Regions from separate parts of the Homo sapiens genome. Here region 2 is linked to region 1. Evidence: promoter capture Hi-C in 16 types of primary human blood cells and fetal thymus (Javierre and others, 2016). All regions are on one chromosome and are shown on one strand. Each heading gives the region's core, a stretch centred on a gene start or on the middle of the fragment in contact. The rest is flanking DNA. Distances are from core to core; before and after follow the strand shown.

What was found. The method cuts DNA at HindIII sites, captures the fragments that hold promoters and counts their contacts. A CHiCAGO score of 5 or more calls a contact.
Region 2: the fragment with the promoter of IL6 here is called in contact with the fragment with the promoter of MALSU1 in region 1 in 3 of 17 cell types (neutrophils, M1 macrophages and M2 macrophages); the score reaches 5.5 in neutrophils.

Annotation. Positions count from the first base shown.
Region 1 is chr7:23,297,500-23,301,377 of GRCh38, reverse strand. MALSU1 (mitochondrial assembly of ribosomal large subunit 1) reads right to left here and starts at 2,039. Exons shown (of 4, transcript NM_138446.2): 1 at 1,770-2,039; 2 at 361-539. The coding sequence starts at 2,025. RefSeq lists an enhancer at 1,733-2,222. The HindIII fragment of the contact is 9,022 bases long and covers 1-3,868 here.
Region 2 is chr7:22,725,303-22,729,180 of GRCh38, reverse strand. IL6 (interleukin 6) reads right to left here and starts at 1,981. Exons shown (of 5, transcript NM_000600.5): 1 at 1,900-1,981; 2 at 1,547-1,737; 3 at 375-488. The coding sequence starts at 1,918. IL6-AS1 (IL6 antisense RNA 1) reads left to right here and starts at 1,561. Exons shown (of 2, transcript NR_131935.1): 1 at 1,561-1,613; 2 at 2,476-3,786. RefSeq lists an enhancer at 1,332-2,531 and a silencer at 2,517-2,566. The HindIII fragment of the contact is 10,105 bases long and covers 224-3,878 here.

The DNA.
Region 1 (3,878 bases), core at 790-3,289:
GAGGCAGGAGAATCACTTAAACCCGGGAGGCGGAGGTTGCGGTGAGCAGAGATCGCGCCATTGCACTCCAGCCTGGGCAACAAGAGCAAAACTCCATCTCAATTAGAAAAAAAAAAAAAATCTTCCTTGCGGTCACAAGAGAAAAGATTTTGATATATCCTAACTCAATAGGGCTGGATATTTGCTCCCATATGTTTCACTATCAAAGAACATAAAATGAATTCATGCAAATTCTGAAAATTTGGGCTTCTTCTGTAACTTTGTATGATGGGTTTACCCTCTAAGTGTTGCTCCTTGGCCTGATGCACTGTCACTATTCCACTCAGTTAATGGTCCAAAAGAGAAAAGAAAGCATCCTACCATTTTCACAACGTAGAAGGCCATGGCATGTAAGTGTCGGGTAGAAGTTCCACTAACAATCACAAAGTAATCTGTATATCTCATTTCTGGAGGAACCTGGATCACACAAATGTCTCTTGCATTTTCTTGCCTCAGAAGTGAAACCATCATATCGATGTCAAACTTGGGACCAGTATGATCTGAAATGCACAAATAGTTGTTTGTATCAGGATGGCCAAGCAGATAGACGTGTATGCACCCAGAGATGCCGGCAGCTGACTGTTCCTCCATGAGGGTGTTTAGATCCAAAGTGTTTTTACAGATAGCAGGGTAAAGGCCTCCTGGAAGGTGAACCTGGGCAGTAGTATCATAGCACCGCTCAACTTTTATGGTCAGGGTGCTCAGATTACGCAGAGCCACTATACATCCTTCGCTATTAACCATATGCAAGTAGAACCAGACACCAGTGACAAATGACTTTCTACTAATACTTAAAAGGAGCAATACACCACAATCACAGAAATGCTGTGCAAAGAAAAACAGCACCACAAAATGGGTAGGAGGTGATATCCTGGAGCATATTAAATTGAATCTCAGTCATAACGGGTCACAGAATTGTGAGCTGGAAGGGCTCTTAGGCAGTATCTGGTCCACAACCTTCAGTTGAGAGATGAAGAAACTGAGGCCTAGGAGAATTACTGTGGCCTAAGATCAGTCACTGAAAGAGCTACATTTTTGAGTAATTATTATTTTGAACCTTCCAGTTTTCATATAAAACCACCGGGTTATTAACAACTGTTACCTATGAAAATCTAATTTTTTTTCCCGTAAAGATTTAGATATTCTGATCTTCAGCTTGGAGTATTACAGGCTGTAAATTTAAAAGCTCGCCCAAGTTCTAAAGCCGACTCCAAAGGACCTAGTAGCTAAGCCCACTAAGGCCTCTCCCTCTCATACTCTACATTCTTAGATGTGATCTGTTTACCATTCTTAAGTTTCTAAAAACGTCAGCAATAACTAGAGGATATTAACTTGGACCCATCTCCTACTGGCGCTTCCTACGCACCCCTTCGCACCCAGACCCTGGCTCCTCAGAATCCTCAAGCCCCAACAGTCCCCACAAACCCATTTCCCAGGATCCTAGGAAGAGGGTAAAAGGAAGTGAGGACGGTGAGACTGTGATGCCAAGGGTGGGAGATGGCCGTCCGGGAGGCTGGGATTCTGCAGTTCATCTCTTGCCCTCAATTTCTTCACTGTGAAACGGGAAGGTTGGCGCCAACAACCTTTGAAGTCCCTTCCAGCTCTGGATGTGCAGGAGTTTTGTGACTCCAAGAGAAATGCACATAGAGGGGAACCCAGAGCCACCTTGGCTGGGACCTGACTCCAGACTGCCCGGAGAGGGTCGCCTTCGTTCTTCTCCACGCCCGTACCTGCCGCGTCCGATTCTGGGCGTCCCTCGTTGACCGTCCCCTCCGCCCGCTCCTCCAGCCCAGGCTCGCTGTGCAGGCCGCGGACAAAGTTTGGGGTCTGGCAAGCCCGGCAGAACGCTGCTCCTACGGGAAGCCGCTGCACGGCCAGCAGCCGAAGCCCGGGCTCGGCTCCAACCGCGGACCCCGCCACCGAGGAAACCGCCCTGCGCCACATTAGTGGGGCGAGCAGCCGCGCCACACGGCCGCCCGGCCCCATAGCAGCAGCCTTGCGTCGGCGTCGCGGGTGGGTGGTACTTCATGGAGCCCGGCCGGGAAATTCTACGTCGATGCGTGGGCGGAGTCAAGGCCTGAAGGACGGACCATGGGCGGAGTCTGGAGCCCGTGAAGACTGCAGTGACCCGGAAGAGCTACTTGGGGATTAGGGCGTGCGGGAATAAAGAACTAGTGTTGCTTGCCCACCTTGCTTTGCTTTGTGTCGCAGTAGCGCATTACGTTGTCACTTTTTTTTTGGACTCTGTCCACTAATGTGAGGCTCATGAAGGCAATAATTTTTGTTTCATTTTTAACTCTTCTCTCCACAGCACCTAAAACAGTTCCTGGTACTGAATGTCCAGAAGTTGCTGTTAATCTGATTAGGCTGGGATTAGGACATATAATCTACCCTCTCTCATTACCAGAAAATATTCAAGATTCCCTTGCAAATTTGAAATTGCGCGAGGAAAATCTGTTATCCTGGGCTAGAGTGGGGTGGGAGGCAGAGGTGTAAAGGACCATTTGGAAACCGTTCTTAGGTCAGCCCATCATCTACACTCCCTGTATGGAGGAGTTTACGCCCAGGGGCGGTACTGTGGGGACCAGCTCTGTAAGAATAAGGAATTCTGAGGTGCCAGCTGCGGTATTAAGTCACAGGACTTGAGAACTGCGATAGATTCCTGGCACGGGTGGGGGGGTGGGGGGTTTTGGGGGCGTGGGACGCCGCAGGGAAGCAACTTGCCCAGGTCATACACTTACTGACTGCGTCAGAATCAGAAGCCAGTTTCTGGCTTCTGAACTCCAGGCCTGCTAACTGCTGAAAGGAAGGCTTCATAGAGAGCAAATATTTCAAATGCCTGAAACAGTGCCAGACACATAGCAGGCACTCCAAAAATGTTTGCTACATTATTTTAAATAATTCCAAGCACTAATTTTGGGAAGTTTTTTAAAAATAGAGAAATTAAGCATTTGTGTATATCACACCAGATATGTACAACCACTTCAAGTTATTTTTGAAAAGAAGAAAAACATTACAGATTAAGTTTCCTCTGTCCAATTTTAGCCCCATCCTCAATTCCATTTTTCCACAGGCATGAACTTGGCTTTTCTCCCAGCTTCTGGCATCCATTCCGTGTTCCCACCCTTCTCTGAACATCCCAGACCTGCTTTACCACCTGTATTTGCCAGCTCATTTAATGGGTCATTATCCCTTCAAAACTCCCAAACCCTAGACTTCATTCAGTCCAGGATCTTCATACAACAAACGAATCTGTTGTCAAAATCCTGCTTATGTGACCTCCAAAATGTTTCTGTGAGTTCAGCTTCTTGTCTTCATTTCCACTGTTTCTTCCTTAGTCCACACCCTCATTAGTTCTTGCCTAATTACAGAGACTGCCTCCTACCTGGCTTTCCTGTCTCCAGTCTGTTTCTACTCTTTTCATCCTCCATGCTGCCCTTCTATCAACTACAATCATTTTCGCTTTATCTGCTTTTTGCTGTTTTTCAAACTCACCATACCCTTTTTTATTTTTATTTTTTAAAGAGATGGGGTCTTACTCTTGTCACCCAGACTGGAGTACAGTCACACAATCATAGCTAACTACATCCTCAAACTCCTGGGCTCAAGCGGTGCTCCTGCCTTAGCCTCCCAATTAGCTAGGACTACAGGCATGTGGAACCATGGCCAGCTAATTTTTGTTTTTAATTTTTTTAAAGACAGGATCTCACTATGTTGCCCAGGCTGGTTTCAAACTCCTGGCCTTAAGCAATCTACCCCACTGTAGCTGTGAGTATAGGCATAAGCCACCATGCCTGGCAACCTCACCATATCCTTTCAATGCCAAGCTTTGCATATAC
Region 2 (3,878 bases), core at 732-3,231, 570 kb after region 1:
TGCAGGTTATCTCACTGTGGAGAATGAGCTGGGCAGGGAGGGAGGGCAGACCTGGACCCTGCCAGGGGCAGCCAGAGAGGGAAAAGGCCCTGAGAGTACCTTTCCCAGGATGAACTAATTAAACCTGTGGGAGTTTTAAACATTTGACAGTTGTTAAAATCTCACCACAGTGGCACCATCTCTGGCCATACCTGTCCAAGAATAAACTGCCTTTAAAAAAGCTTGAAGTTGGCCTCCTCATGAAATTTACATAACATTCTTTACATTTACCCACTTTTTGTTGCTGCCTGGATCTATATGTATACAGGCACTGCATGCAAGAGGGAGAAGTTTTGCCTAAGGAATAGTGAAAAGTGAGTGCGACAAGTTGGTACCTCATTGAATCCAGATTGGAAGCATCCATCTTTTTCAGCCATCTTTGGAAGGTTCAGGTTGTTTTCTGCCAGTGCCTCTTTGCTGCTTTCACACATGTTACTCTTGTTACATGTCTGGGAAAGAATACCAGAATTGTTATCACCTAAGTGTCCCTAAAACAAACACCACTAGAGGGCCTTTTCATTGTTCAACCACAGCCAGGAAAGTCTCTAAGAAAAATGAAGCTACAACTCATTGGCATCCTGGCAAGCAAATTCCAGTGGAGTGGGGGCACACTTGGGTTCAGTTCCAAGCTCACCTGTGACTTTAGGTGTGTTACTTAATCCTGAGTCTCAGTTTCCTTATCTCCAAAAACCTTCCTTGCAAATTTGTTTTGAAGATTAGACACAATATTTATTTAAAGTGCCTGGCACACAGTAGATACTTAATAACAGCAATTTTGACAATAATTAGGAGAATATAATTCAAGCCATAGAATGTTCCAGCAGGAAGGATCTATGAGATCACCTAGTCCACGCCCAATTTTACTGATGGAGTCCAGAGGTGGTAGGGAATTTACCCAAGATCACAAGGCTGGTTTGGCAGAACCAGAATTCGAGTGTGGGCTCCCAATCTCCCCTCCTGTGTTCTTTTCTTTCTACCAAACAGGACCAAAATACCTTGCATTGAAAGTGGGGAGATGCTTTAACCTATTTATGATTTGCCACTTTGGTGGGCTCTGAGGTATGAATCTTAGCTGGAATGGCTTTGAGGAATCCTAGCCATTGAGTTTACATAACCAAAAAGTACTGCAACTGCTCTGAGAAGCTGAACATGCCTTTCAGGTGGCACTTTTCTAGTCCTTCCAAAGCCCGGGGGACAAAAAGGAGCTTCACAGACCTAATTTTTTGGAAAGGGAAAAGGAAGCCCTGAGAAGCAATAACCCTCAGCTCATGCCAAAGGTGGGCATGGATTTCAGACCCATTCTGCATTTTCCAGAAAGGAAAGGAACTTCCTGACACCAGCAAAGGATAAATACAGAAGTCAGTCTAGTCGGCCCCGTTGGCCTCAAATCTACAGTGCTCTAGAACCCAGCAAAGACCTCCTAATGCAGGCAGCCCCCGGCCACACGCAGGGGCAAGGGGAACGCATGCGCACCGGGCCCTTCAACCCCATCGCCAAGCCTACCCACCTCCTTTCTCAGGGCTGAGATGCCGTCGAGGATGTACCGAATTTGTTTGTCAATTCGTTCTGAAGAGGTGAGTGGCTGTCTGTGTGGGGCGGCTACATCTTTGGAATCTTCTCCTGGGGGTACTGGGGCAGGGAAGGCAGCAGGCAACACCAGGAGCAGCCCCAGGGAGAAGGCAACTGGACCGAAGGCGCCTGTGCCGGAGGGGAGCGAGCGCAGGGGTGAGCTGACAGCACAGCTGGGAGCCTGCCTCTGCTGCTGGCCGCCCGCCAGCCCTCCCTGGGCCACACACCCCTCCCTCACACAGGGCTCGACCGCCGCTGGCAGTTCCAGGGCTAAGGATTTCCTGCACTTACTTGTGGAGAAGGAGTTCATAGCTGGGCTCCTGGAGGGGAGATAGAGCTTCTCTTTCGTTCCCGGTGGGCTCGAGGGCAGAATGAGCCTCAGACATCTCCAGTCCTATATTTATTGGGGGTTGAGACTCTAATATTGAGACTCATGGGAAAATCCCACATTTGATAAATCTTTGTTGGAGGGTGAGGGTGGGGCCAGAGCGGGTGGGGCTGATTGGAAACCTTATTAAGATTGTGCAATGTGACGTCCTTTAGCATGGCAAGACACAACTAGGGGGAAAAGTGCAGCTTAGGTCGTCATTGAGGCTAGCGCTAAGAAGCAGAACCACTCTTCCTTTACTTTCTTTTTTTCTTTTATTAGTGACTCAGCACTTTGGCATGTCTTGACAAAGAGTAAAGCTGAAGTCATGCACGAAGTTTTACAAAGAGAAAAAAAATAAGCTAAAGCTATGTTTTTTGAAAAAAAAAAAATTTTTTTTCAGTGACCAGATTAACAGGCTAGAATTTAGCGTTCCAGTTAATTTGTATTTGTAAAAACCAAAGATGTTCTGAACTGAGTTTCCTCTGACTCCATCGCAGCCCCCCAAGCCTGGGATTATGAAGAAGGTAATACTACCAGTCATCTGAGTTCTTCTGTGTTCTGGCTCTCCCTGTGAGCGGCTGTTGTAGAACTGCCTGGCCATCCTCAAATTTCGTGCAGTTACTTCAAGGCGTCTCCAGGTGGAGTGTGTGACTCCTTTTTGCCACCGCGTGGCTTCTGCCACTTTCTTCACCTGCTTCAGCCCACTTAGAGGAGGTTGGCTGCTGCCCTGCCCTCTCCCAAGTGACCCCTTGGGAATCCTCCCAGTGAGGACTTTGCTCTCTGTGCCAGAGGTTTGCCTTGTGCTGCCAGTGCTCTCCCCATTGCCACTGAGTCTCTTCACCACTGTTTCACTGGGGCACCTGCATGGGCCCCAGGTCTCCTGGAGCCCTGAAATTACTGAAGCCCACTTGGTTCAGGGCAGAAAGGGGGAGAATACTACTCACCTCTTTGTTGGGGATGTCAAAGGAGGACCTTGTGGCATCTTGCAGAGTTTGTGTTTATCGCTCCCTCTCCCTGTAAGTCTTGATTTGAAATCAAAAGAAGCTAGAAGGAAACTACGGACGCAGGCACGGCTCTAGGCTCTGAATCTGCTTCCGCGTCGGCACCCAAGAATTTCTTATTGGGTCAAGCTGGTTCAGAAGCCCTCTTCCCTCAGGATGGTGTCTCTTGCAGGAGGATCCTTGGTCTCATGCAAATGGGCTCTAGACTAGGTTGTCCCTCCAGTCTCCAGAGACCCAGACAGCTCTGAGATGGCTTCAGGCTGAAACCAGACCCTTGCACAACACCAAAACACTTATTTACCAAACATGGTGTTACCTTCACAATCGGTTTCTTTGCTTTGCTAAGAAGAGATCTCTTCAAGATCGATAAAACAGTGACCTCTGTTGGGCATTTACTCAAGTTTTGTTTCGTGCATAACATTTCAGGACCCGCCTGTTGGGGAAAGTGAGGTCATCCATTCTTCACCGATTGTCTAAACAGAGACGGTGGTCCTCTGCCGCGGTGGGATTCTTTGGTGTGAAAATGAAAATGGGGGAGGATGGCTGGATGGTTTCATTTTTAGTGCTCTCCTGTCTTAAGCAACGTAGACACTCCTGAACCAAGTTCTCTTTCCTGCATGAAACGAAGCCACTGCTCCCAGCTCCGCAGCCGTGCACTGTGATCCGTCTATGTAATGTGAGCTTGCTTTTACTCAACTATCTATTTTTTAGAAAATACAATTCAATAAATTTCAAGTACTTGAACTGAGTGACACAATACAACACACAGATTTATCTTTTCAATAAAAAGTGTTTTTTAAATAGGAAGTTCGTGTTCATGATAAAATGTTCAAATAGGACATCAGGGCATGCAGGGAAAAGTGTCTCCTTCCTCTCCTGGCCCCTTTTCCCAGAGGTAG